Linked DNA regions of Homo sapiens: regions 1 and 2 are each linked to region 3. Evidence: promoter capture Hi-C in human tissues and cell types (Jung and others, 2019). All regions are on one chromosome and are shown on one strand. Each heading gives the region's core, a stretch centred on a gene start or on the middle of the fragment in contact. The rest is flanking DNA. Distances are from core to core; before and after follow the strand shown.

Region 1 (4,146 bases), core at 1,177-3,676, 1.5 Mb before region 3:
GAATGAAGTGGCCATTAACAAAGAATGAGACAAGCCTGAAGGTTCTGACTGAGGAGGATAGCCAGGGTATAGTATTAATTTTTAAAAATCATGCTGAATATCAATATGTACACTTTGTTCCTATTAAAGGAACAACCCTATGCATATATGTCAGTACTTCAAAAAAGTTCTGGGAGGATCTGCACCAAGTACTAGTGAGTGCCTTTGAGAGGACGGGAGGGGTTGTTTAATTTTACTTCCCACACTTCTGAGTTGTTTGAGTGTTTTAAAACAAGCTTGCATTACTTTTGCAATACCCTATATATTTTGTGTGTGTGTGTGTATTATATATATACACACACACAAATATGTATATATTCCTAGTTAAGGAGGGTCCCTCAGCCTTATGAAAACTTCTGTTTTAGTAGCCAAAAATAAATATATAAATAAATATCTTAAGCATTTATTAAATATTTAATAAATATTTAGTAATATATATAATTTAATAAATACTTAAGTATTTATTATTTCTTTCTTTGCTTTTGGCTAGCTAAAGCAGAAGAGTTCTCATGAGGGAGTGGCACCCTCCTTTACTAGTGGAAAAATCCTATTTTCTCTGACTGAAAGCCCTCTTATTTGACTGGGCTTGGATTTCTTTTGGTGGAGAGTAAAGAGCAGTGTCCCCAAAGGGCCTCTCTGGGATTGTGTCCAGGATGGGGAGGCTTCAGTTCAGAAGGGCCACTCTCTGTTTAGCATGAAGGTCTGTAATCTCTGTGATTTTGTTGTCCCCTGAAGTTAGGGTCTTGGCCCTGGGCACCCTAACATGCAGTTGGCTCAGGTACTTACAACTTGGTGATGAGGCTGGCAGAGTGTGCCAGGGGGCCAGTTACAGCTGGTTTGCAGACTACTGATGACGTTCTCAAACTGGACTGACACCTGGGGAGCTTTACAAAACTTCATGGAGGTGGGGTCCCCCTGGACTAATTTACTCAGGATCTTTGAGGGTGAGGTCTGGCTCCCACATGATTCCAACACTCAGCCAAGTTTTTGAACCATTAGGTTAAGAAGGAAGCCAGGTGAGAGAATGCAAGTCAATCAGCAAAAATCACAACAGGTGAAACCAGTCAAAGGCTACACTGTATAGCAGAGTCTCTCCAAGTATGTGTTTCCTGATCACCATTCCGAATCACTTAGGGTATGCATTAAATATGCAGCTGTTTCACTCCCCCTACCTCCGACCCCGCCCAGAGATGCTGAATTGGAATCTCTATGAGGCTGATCTTAGGAACATGCATTTAAACAAGGATCCCATGTGATTTCCAGGTAAAGCTCTAGAACGCTCTGTCCCCAGAGAGTGGTTCAGTAGCAGCATCCTCATTTGGCAGCCAGTTAGTTATAGGAGGCTGTTGACTGTGAGAAAGAGGGTGTTTGATAAATTATTGAATTAAGCTTAAGAATAATTAGTTCATCAACTTTTTCAATAGAGGAAACTTATTTCAGTAACTGATTTTGCAAAATGAAAGAAAAATTTTCTGATTATGTTGGTTACTGCAGTTGTAATAATGCTGTGGCTTCAGAGATTGTCTTTATGTGGCACTTTTATCCAATGATCTTAATGTGTTTTATAGTCATTCTTCTTATAATGGTTCTGTTGGAGTTTGTACTGTCCTCACTTCTCAGTACAAAAGTAACAGATTCATAATTTTTTTTATTATGTATGTATTTATTTATTTTTTAGTATAAGTTCTAGGGTACGTGTGCACAATGTGCAGGTTTGTTACATATGTATACATGTGCCATGTTGGTGTGCTGCTGCGCCCAGTAACTCGTCATTTACATTTACACCAGTAGGAGAAGTTCTTATCCCTCCCCCCCTCCCCCCACCCCACAACAGGCCCTGGTGTGAACACCTGTGTCCAAGTGTTCTCATTGTTCAATTCCCACCTATGAGTGAGAATATGCGGTGTTTGGTTTTCTGTCCTTGGGATAGTTTGCTCAGAATGATGGTTTCTAGCTTCATCCATGTCCCTACAAAGGACATGAACTCATCCTTTTTTACAGCTGCATAGTATTCCTTGGTGTATATGTGCCACATTTTCTTCAGATTCATAATTAAAAGTCATATCCTGGCAATAAGAACCAGTGTTTCTTTGGAGTTTGTTGCAGTTCATGCATACCACATGGTACGGGAAGAATATTTTTGTCAATATCAGAGCTTTAAACTCCAATGGGGTGGCATTTAGACATATAAGTATTGTGAACAGATAGATGTATTCTAAGTTTATAACTGAATTCTGAAAGGTTGGTCCCAGACATAGATAAACTTAAAATCAATACTCTGTATTTTTACTTTTTGGTGATTATCTTCAGAAGTGACTTTATAAGACTTTCTCTGATCAAAACTTTATTTTACAGGTGGAGAAAAGTAATTCTGAAAACACTGCTTTTGAACTTGTAGGCCTTTAAAAAAATTGTAATTTGCATGTCCAGTGTTTTTTTTCTGCTTTTTGCCTTGGCACGTCTAAATAAAGCAAGCCAAAAGTTTCAGTGAATTCTCAATTAGCATTCTCTACTGAAGGGGAGGGAAATCTCAGCAGTAAGTCTGAGATGGGTCCCATGCAACTGTAATTTTATGTCACTCCACACATAGTCCTGAGGTACAGCCAGGAGTAAGACCTACTCCTGGAATTTCCTTTGGATGCTAGCAACAGTCTCTACAGAGTGTCGACTGGTCTCCCTATGCCATCTTGACTTTCAGAAAAAATAGCAATAGTGGAACATTATTTACCAACACAGGTCTGTACTTTCCCTATTCATTTTGTGGTCAGCATCAGATCCTGATTTCATATTTAAATGCTTATTACTTTAAAAGTGTCTGGAATCAAGTCTCCATCAATAATTTCAGATAAATTGAAAGCACTGCCTTACTGTTCCTTAAGTCACTCTTAGCGGGGATTTGGATGAGATGATCACAAAGTTTCCTTCTGGCCATATGATTCTATTTTATGGGTTTAGTAAGTGAGGACCTGAGCACTCTAACTGGGTTCAAATTTATAGGCTGGGATGAGTTATATCTCAAGGTACTATAAACATTCATGTCTATGATTGCAGAGACCTGGTCAATAGTATTTAAGAAACCTTTCCATGGCACTAAACAATCTTCTACCACACTAAAAAGCAATCATTTAGAATATATCTGTGTGGCCGAATTGCGGGCCTGATGGCCTTTGGATTGAGACATGGCCCCTTCCTGGTTCTACAGCAGCTTCTGGCCTTTGGCCTTGAAGCGGGAAATCTGCTCTGCAGATCTTGGACTTGCCAGTCTGCATAATCATGTGAACCGATTCTTTATAAGAAAATCTCTCTAGCTTATTATATATATCTTTATATATCTCCTGTTGATTCTGTTTCTGTGGAGAATTCTGACTAATATCATGGGCAATGAAAAATACATGCTTTTCAGTGTATTTTCAGCCAATTTTTCCTCTCAACAAACATATTGGATTGTTAGCAGAAAATATGTGCTGTGTTCATTATACATTGGACACATGGGGCATGAGGATGCTACTGTTACAATCTAAAAAAACTTCCTCTTATTCCTCTTTTGAGACAAAAGAGATTTTGAAATGAGCAAATGGTGTTTAATGTGTAAGTTCAATTCAAAAATGTCAAGTGAAAATTGAATAAATCTCCGGAGATATGTAACTTTAAAAATTAATAACATAGGCTGGGCGCAGTGGCTCACGCCTGTAATCCCAGCTCTTTGGGAGGCCGAAGCCAGTGGATCACGAGGTCAGGAGATCGAGGCCATCCTGGCTAACACGGTGAAACCCCGTCTCTATTAAAAATACAAAAAATTAGCCAGGCGTGGTGGTAGGTGCCTGTAGTCCCAGCTACTCAGGAGGCTGAGGCAGGAGAATGTCGTGAACCCGGGAGGCGGAGCTTGCAGTGAGCCGAGATCGCGCCACTGCACTCCAGCCTGGGCGACAGAACGGGACTCCATCTCAAAAAAAAAAAAAAAATTAATAACATAAACTATGTTTCCTGATAAACTAATTAACGGCAGGTTGGTAGACATGTTATACATGTGATTGTATTTAAAGTTTTAATGCTTTTACTATAGGCAGTAACAATAACTTTCACTAATTCAGGAAATTAGTATTTTCA
Region 2 (4,240 bases), core at 1,138-3,637, 1.6 Mb before region 3:
GTTTCTTAGGGTTGCCACACAAATCACCACACACTGGGTGGCTTAAAGCGACAGGTATGTATTTTCTCACAGTGCTGGAGGCCAGAAGTCTGAAGTCAAAGTGTCAGCAGGGCTCTCTGAGGGCTCGAGGGACGCGTACCTCCCTGCCTCTTGCCAGCTCTGCAGGTTACTGGCCCTCGCTGGCGCTTGCCTGGCCTAAGCTGCATCGCTCCAGTCCCTGCCTCCCTCAGCAGAGGGCTGCCTTCTCTGTGTGTCTGTGCCCAATCTCCTTCTCCTTTCTCTTAAAAAGATACCCGTCACTGGATGGAGCTGGAGGCTATAATTGTAAGCGAATTAACACAGGAACAGAAAACCAAATACCACATGTTCTCACTTATAAGTGGGAGCTAAACATTTAGGACACATGGACATAAACATGGGAACAACAGACACTGTGGACCACCAGACACGGGAGGGAGGGAGGTGTGGGTTGAAAAACTACCCATCGGGTACTATCATCACTACCTGAGTGCAAAATACACATGTAATAAACCTGCACATGGACCCCCTGTATCTAACATATAAGTTGAAATTAAAAAAAAAGATTCAAAAAAAGATTAGAAAGAAAAAAAATGCCAATCGCTGGATTAAGGTCCATTTTAATCCAGTAGGACCTCATCTTGGCTTGACTGCATCAGCAAAGTGGATTACATCTGACTCATTTCCAAATAAGGTCACATTCACTGGTACCAGGGGTTATAACTTGAGCATATGTTTTTGGAGGACACAGTTCGACCCACAACAGTTCCCTCAAATATATATACAGACTATACAGGCAGGTCATTGATTCCAGCCCTGATACAAGTAGTAAGGAAGCAGGACAGCAGAGAGAGGAGAGCGTGAGGTTTAACAAGAGAAGAAATAACATTACTCTGACCCTTGGTCCTTCCAGCTCCTCCAGGCAGCAGATGGGATGAGCCGTGAGGAAGATCAAAGACAGTCTGGGACCAGAGGGCAGAGTGATGAGCACACTAGACACCAAACGGGTCATAAATCACTTCTGGTCCTTTTAAGTTGCTTTTTGTGCCTTTTATTTTCTCCCTCCACTCTTTCCTACCACTTGCTTCTTCTCTCTCTGCCCTCACCATTCCATTTTCCATTCAGTCTCTCTGTCATCCTCATTCTTTGAGCCCCAAAGCAAGGAAGAAATACATTATGTGATCAAAGAACTTCCAAAGGACATTTACGTTTCCCCATTTGATTATCAGTACTTTATGAAATTTCATCATTTATGAACAAAACAACTCGAATGCAGCATTTTGAGGACAAACTGTAGAGCAGGTTTGTAAAGTTCTTTGTGCCTGATGTCAACCAAGGTTTGCTTGAGCCAGTTTTCTTAAATCTTCCATCCTGTCTTACTCATTTCCAGAGTACATGGTAGCAATGTACAGTATCTTATCAACCAATATATAGACATAGAAACAAATTAAGAAAACAGGAAGGACATCTCTTAACATTTCTTAAAGGGTTGGCTCATGTTACTGGTTAATCTACCCTGATTTCAATGAGACTTTTGGTCATTCCTATTACAAATATTTATAATATGCCCACTATGAACAAAGGATTTTGCTACCATGAGTGGATGATACAGAAATAAATAAGACAGTCCCTGCTTTCAAGAAGTTTGCAGTTTTGGGAGAAATATATAAACAACTCTTACATAAGGTAAAATGGGATAAATGCTGCAAGAAAGGTTCAAAGTGTTTGGGATATATTTGAGAAAGAAGGGATTAATTATGACTGGGAGTGTTCTTAGAAGAGGTAATAGAGTTTGTGTTGGGAATTCAAAAGTGGCAAGTACACCGATAGTAGACATTCCTCAAAAGACGTTACCACTAGAGCTACTTGAGCAAAGCTGCTGAGGCAAGACAGAATAGACCATATTTTGGGAGAACACCAACAACTGTTGAGTGTGGTTCAAGAGAAGTGTCATGCAAGATAAGGCTGAAAAGACGTTTAAAGATCCAAGAGTGAAGCACTGTGCTTTGAATTCTATGTTTAGAGGCGAATCACCAAAGTTTCTAATTGGAGGATTAGGAGATCAGTTAGAAGGCTGTTGAAATGGTCTAAGAGTCCAAAAATGAAGAGTTGACTGAGGACAGGAGCAGAGGATGTGGTGAATGGGGAGCCCGGAGGCATAAGGTAGAGGTAGAATCAAAAGGTCCTGGCAGGTTATGGGATGTTGAAGATGAGGGAAACCACGGAGCAATTAGAATCTTGGCATTGCTTTGCCATGAACGAGGAAGGGCCCAGGGAGGAGCAGCTTTATGAAGGGAGAAGAGATGGGGTGAAGAAGGGAGAGTGACAACTTCATTTTGGTCTAGTGGTATCTGAAGCTTATTATTATTATTTTTTGTAATCAGAGTCTTGCTCTGTGGCCCAGGCTGGAGTGCAGTGGTGTGATCTTGGCTCACTGCCACCTCTGCCTCCCGGGTTTAAGTGATTCTCCTGCCTCAGCCACCTGAGTAGCTAGTACTACAGGTGCCCGCCACCATACCCGGCTAATTTTTGTATTTGTAGTAGAGATGGGGTTTCACCATGTTGGCCCAGGCTGGTCTCAAACTCCTGACCACAGGTGATCTGCCTGCCTCGGCCTCCCAGAGTGTTGAGATTACAGGCATGAGCAATGGCACCTGGCCTCTGAAGTATTTTTGTAATAATGATGTAGGGAAGTCCAGCAGGTAGTGAAAATGCATTTTTGGAATTTTGAAGAGCAGTCAGGGTTAGGTTCTTAGGCTCAGAGATGAAGAGTATTAACTAAAGAATGAAGTTTACAAAGAAAGGGGATGACGAGCTCTTTTTATACTATAGAAATACTATATTATTGGCTGGGTGCGGTGGCTCACGCCTGTAATCCCTGCACTTTGGAAGGCTGAGGTGGGTGGATCACGAGGTCAGGAGATCGAGACCATCCTGGCTAACATGCTGAAACCCCGTCTCTACTAAAAAATACAAAATATTAGCCAGGCGTGGTGGTGGACGCCTGTAGTCCCAGCTACTCGGGAGGCTGAGGCAGGAGAATGGCTTGAACTCAGGAGGCAGAGCTTGCAGTGAGCCGAGATCGTGCCACTGCACTCCAGCCTGGGCGACAGAGCAAGACTCTGTCTCAAAAAAAAAATAAATAAATAAATAAATAAATAAAAATAAATAAATGCTATATTATCCACATTTGAAGTAAATTTATTGTATTGGGAGACACAGAAACAAAAGCATTAGCATTTACTAAGCATAACTGCCTAAAGAGGAAAAGGTATACAAAAAGGAAAAACATTAATAGGGTAAGAAAAGACTTAAGGATTCTAGGGAAAGAAGTATGTATCACCCTCAGGGCCTAATTGAAAGAAGTATTTGATTGAAGGATGTCTCATTATTGGGGGATTTAAAATTTTCTAATGGGTCATTGAAATGTTGTATAATATATTTACACAAAAATTTGGATAGGACAGATTACAGGGCTTTCCAGGCAGCCATTGAACTGGAAAAATACTTTTACCTGCTATAATTAAGTCCTTCTAATCAAGTAAAAGACATTTCTAGTTATATGTAATTTGACTATGATTTCCCCAATGGTTGCCCAAAATGGAATGGGCTTCATTGGGAGGCCTTACATTTTCCACTCAGGAAATGTTCAAGAAAAATCTGATTGGCCATTTGTTGAGGATATTTCAAAAGGCACCCCTACTCTGAGTGGGAAGCTGGCCTCAGTGACACCCTGAATGTGAGAGGTTTCCATGTTGTTTCCAGGATTGGTTGCTCAGGACTGTGTCAGGCACTGTCTATAAGAAGCTGGTTACTGTTCTCTGACAATCCTGTTGTTAATTCTCATGGAACCCAAAGTGGAAAGGACCACAGAAAATTGTAAATAATTAGTGCCTTTCATCTTTCCTCATGATTCTTATTTTTCTAACCTTTTTTTAAAATTTGAGACGGAGTCTTGCTCCGTTGCCCAGCTGGAGTGTAGCGGCATGATCTCGGCTCACTGCAACCTCCACCTCCTGGGTTCAAGCCATTCTCCTGCCTCAGCCTCCCAAGTAGCTGGGACTACAGGCACACACCAGCATGCTCAGCTAATTTTTGTATTTTTAGTAGAGATGGGGATTTCACCATGTTGGCCAGGATGGTCTTGATCTCTTGACCTCGTGATCTGCCCGCCTTGGCCTCCCAAAGTGCTGGGATTACAGGCGTAAGCCACCGTGCCCCG
Region 3 (4,571 bases), core at 185-2,684:
AAATACATTTCATATCATTATTGTTTAATATATTATTTTTGTTTAAAATTGATAGTTGTCCTATAATTTTATGTCTAGCTGAATTCCCAAAGTAGAAGTACTAATGTGCAGAGAATTCATGAAAGGTTTTAAAATGTCTTACAAATGTAAGATTATTTGAAGCTGTATCAGCTTGTAATTTAAGGCCTGCAGCTGCTGGTATGATAGAAGTATCAAATTTCAAAAGAAATTATGGTAGAGTATAAATAAGCAGAATGAAGAGAAAAGTCTCCTGAGAAGAAAATAAAATGAGAATGAAGCATATGCATTGTTATTGCATTGCTCCTTTTTTTCTTCATTTTTTATTTCAGGTTCGAGGGGTACATGTGCAGGTTTGTTACACAGATAAATTGCATATCACCAGGATTTGATGTACAAATAATTTCATCGCCCAGGTAGTAAGCCCAGTACCCGATAGACAGTTTTCCGAACCCCACCTTTCTCCCTCCCTCCTTCCTCAAGCAGGCCCCAGTATCTGATTGTTCCCATCTCTGTGTGCATGTATACTAAGGCACTGCTTCTTATATTCAAGGTTTAGTACTAAAATGCAAATATGAAGTATATAATTTAGTAAGTTTTAATCCTGCTGCAAACCAGGTCACATAAAAATAATGCAAAATAAAATATTAAAATTATTCAGAAGTTCGATATTTATTCTGTTGTCTTTACACCTTATAAAATGGAATGACCTAATTACTCTTAAATAAACATAAAGACAATTTAAGGTCACATTTGTTACATTCACATAATTTGTTAAACACAATAGAAATGTTAGTTTACTAGAAAAGAACTGTCATAATTTTAACATGCAGAGTTTGTTTACCTTCTATTATGGTGATCTTTGTTTAAGATTTTCTCCTCAGATGTTAAAAGTTTTTCACTTAAAGAGGCTTAGGGAAAGTGATTTTTAAAGAGTCACTGTTACATGGTAATATGCCGTTCATTTGGATGAGACTAGTATATAGGTAATAGTCACAAGTTCTAACTTGCATGTTAATTTGAAGAGATTTTTCGTAAAATTTTATCAACATTAGTTTCTAATGGAAACCAGTCTTAGAAGTTTTCTGCTGTTTGTTTGAGGTAAAGTTTTTTTAAGAAAGTTATAATTACATTAAACTATCATGCTTTAGGGTTTAAATGTTGGAAAGTTGGTTTTGTAAGAAGAAGAGTTTGGTTTCTTGTTTGTTTGTTTGTTTTGGTTTGTTTTTGGCATGCGAAGAGCTGTGTCCTGGAATTGGTGCCCAAAAAATTTTAAGTGTGGTATGAACTGTTTATGTCACTGAGTAAAATTAGACACGTCTGTTGCTAATGTGAGGGGATGAAACATGAGACAGGGCGAAACTCGTGAGAGCCCTTTCTCCAGGGACAGTTGCTGAAGCTTCATCCTTTGCTCTCATTCTGTAAGTCATAGAAAAGTTTGAAACATTCTGTCTGTGGTAGAGCTCGGGCCAGCTGTAGTTCATTCGCCAGTGTGCTTTTCTTAATATCTAAGGTAAGTGCTCAGTTTTAACTTAGATTTTATATCAGTACAAAGTACTACCTAAAAACCAAACGCTTAAGAGGTTTCTTAATATTCTTTCTTCTTTGGTGGCATAATAATAAATTTAAAATAATGTTGAATAAATTGGTGTATCACAACATAATGACATATCAAGTATCAATGAAATTCTCATTTCAACTAAGTTATTCTGACTACAAATATGCTACATATTTTTAGCATAATCCTATATTTCTAACATTTTTAATTTGTAGAATGCCAAAGGTAGCATTTCTGTATTATTGGGCATTGAATTGGATCCTGTAGTTAATTTAAACAAAGTATTATCTTTAAGATCACCTACTTCTAATTCTGCTCTTAAACTTTAGTGGTAGAATTACATTTGCTTTAGATTTTCTTGATAGTTTTGTTATAGACACTAAGAAATAAACTAAAATGAATGACAACAAAAGTCCAGTGGTTTTATAAGTTGGAAATAAACAAAACAAGAGCAAAATAGCAACCTGACTCCTTCACTATTTTTGGAGTGAAAAGGGAAGAATGTTTCTTTCCCTAAATCTGGAAAATATAAAATACTGCTCAAAATATGTATGAAAAAATAAACATAAGTGGGGTAAAAGTACACATGTGCTAATGCTTCAGCTTACTGAAGTTATGAGTTCTTTCTTTGCGTTTTCTAAATTAATACATGACAACTAGCAAACACAATTTTTTTAAAGGAAGGATTAGAAAAAAATAATACGGAAAAATATAACTCAGCTGACTGAAAGATTTGCCAGCAGACCAGTACAAAAACGAACTACGGAATACACCGTTTGTTTTTTGCTTATTTTCTTGCAAACATTTTGTAGGTACAAAAAGGCACCTTTGTGGAATTTAAAAAGTAATGCTACAAGTTGGGGTTCGTTTTATAGGTTCTAGGATTCATTTCAGATTGTCTTTCAAAGACAAATGAAAAGTAGCATTTCAATGTAGTTAGATATAGCATTCCAAAGACTAACAAATTCAGGTGTCCAAAAGATATCAGCTAAGCTTGCAGTTAAAATGCGGAAAATGAAATTGTTCCATATTGTCCTTTAAAAAATGTACTTGCTAGTCATTAAACTAAGTTGTTATTAAATTGCATTAAAAATTAAATGATAGTTGTAAATTATAGTGGGTTCCCAATGTGTTCAGTTTTGCATAACTTATAGGGCCTGAGGATCTCCCTCCACTCCCTAATCTGTGGCTCATCACAGCGCTTGTGTCTTCTCAGCTTGAGGCACCAGGGCTGTGGTTTCCCAGTGGGAGGGGAGAAACTACAGCGTCCTGAGGATGACTCTGCTACTCTCCTGCTCCTTCAGAACCCACCTTGACCTTCATGACACCTTCCTGTCTCTCCCTCCCTCCCTCCCCTTCTCTCAGCCTCTATAGCACCTGTCTGGCTTTATTCTTCTCCAGACCTACTGCAGGGCCAGATAGTTCTACGACGTTCTCATGAGGATTGCAGGATCCATCACTTGCTACTTTGGCCATTTTGGATTCCAGCTTCATTTTTAATTTTATATGTTATGCTGTAGATAGTTTTATGGGAACACTGGTACAGGAGTATTTAGTAATTTGTGAATGGTAAAGGTCTCAAGACTTTTCTCAGAACCTGTGAAAATCTCACTGCCTGCTCGACTTCAGTATGACTGGTGGGTAGGACCACTGAGGAATGGGGACAGGAGGGCTTGCTGTGCCCAAAGGCGTTTGTGCTTCATCCTAAGCACCAGTGAGACCTTTGAACCTCTAGAAAAGGAGAGCAGCCCAGTCACATGGGTGCTTTGGAAGGATCACTGCAGTTGACATGGAGAATGGATTAAGGGCAGTGGAGGCGGCAGTGAAGAGTACCTTAAAACCTAGCTTCACCTTCGTGACTTCTTTAACTCTGTTTTTAAAATGCTCAATTAATTTTACTTGAGAAACATCTCTGGAAAGTCTAACATCAATGAAGAGGCTATGATTAAAAGTTTAGGCTATGGAGCCAGACTGCCATTTGACCTTGTGTGAATTACTTAATTTCTATGTCTCAGTTTCTTCATTTGTAAGGTGAGAGGAGTTGCATTGTAGCAGCTACCATTTTAACAAGTATCAAATTTAGTCTATATAAGGCAATTAGAAAGTTTCTGACTTCTTAGTAAATAGTAGCTTCCATCGGCATCACCCATCAATGCACCCTCTTATCCTGACCCCACACTGCGGGGAAGTCAGGAAGACCTCGGGAAAATGACGGTAACTGGTCAGGAACTTGAACCTGCTTCTCACAGTCCCCTAAGAAGGCGTACCAGAAAGGAGCCCTAAGCAGGCAGGAGACTCCAGGCTGAGGCTATTTCTGCTGTTTCTGTGGAGAACGTTCTCTGCACGCAGCCATGGCTGCTCAGAAGGGGTGTGTGCATTCCAGGATACAAATAGCCCTCCTGGCATTCCTGGTGGCTGCCTGCCTATCCCTAGTGGTAAGGTCTATGAAGGAAAGAAAGGCAAGTGACTGTTTACCTTTCCCATGAAAATCTTCCTTTTCTTCAACATTTTTGATTGTAACGAAAACTTTATATAAAATATTCTCCCTTTATTTTTATTTTTTTTTGAGACAGAGTCTCGCTCTATCGCCCAGGCTGGAGTGCAGTGGCATGATCTCGGCTCACTGCAAACTCACCTCCCGGGTTCAAGTGATTCTTCTGCCTCAGCCTCCCTAGTAGCTGGGATTACAGGCATATGCCACCATGCCCAGCTAATTTTTGTATTTTTAGTAGAGACGGAGTTTCACCATGTTAGTCAGGATGGTCTCGATCTGCTGACCTCGTGATCCACCCGCCTCGGCCTCCCAAAGTGCTGGGATTACAGGCATGAGCCACCATGCCCAGCCTACATAAAATACTCTAAAATGTTAATCTTGGTGAAACAATATAAGTGTGTTGTCTCCATACTGGAATGCATTTGAATGTTTGTATTTTGGCAACATTTGAAAGTCACTTTAAATCATCCCATTCATATCTCAAAGCAAAGGTGATAATAA

What was found. The method cuts DNA at HindIII sites, captures the fragments that hold promoters and counts their contacts. A contact is called where the count stands out against the background at its distance.
Region 1: a contact is called between a fragment that was not itself captured here and the fragment with the promoter of SGCG in region 3, in 1 of the 25 tissues and cell types used here (mesenchymal stem cells).
Region 2: a fragment that was not itself captured here is called in contact with the fragment with the promoter of SGCG in region 3 in 1 of the 25 tissues and cell types used here (lymphoblastoid cells).

What each region holds. Positions count from the first base shown.
Region 1 is chr13:21,645,655-21,649,800 of GRCh38, forward strand. No RefSeq gene overlaps it. Among named protein-coding and RNA genes, the nearest start is that of FGF9, 23 kb to the right of the region's middle. The HindIII fragment of the contact is 5,535 bases long and covers 1-4,146 here.
Region 2 is chr13:21,620,088-21,624,327 of GRCh38, forward strand. No RefSeq gene overlaps it. Among named protein-coding and RNA genes, the nearest start is that of MICU2, 18 kb to the left of the region's middle. The HindIII fragment of the contact is 7,337 bases long and covers 1-4,240 here.
Region 3 is chr13:23,179,545-23,184,115 of GRCh38, forward strand. SGCG (sarcoglycan gamma) reads left to right here and starts at 1,435. Exons shown (of 8, transcript NM_000231.3): 1 at 1,435-1,531. The HindIII fragment of the contact is 3,028 bases long and covers 1-1,993 here.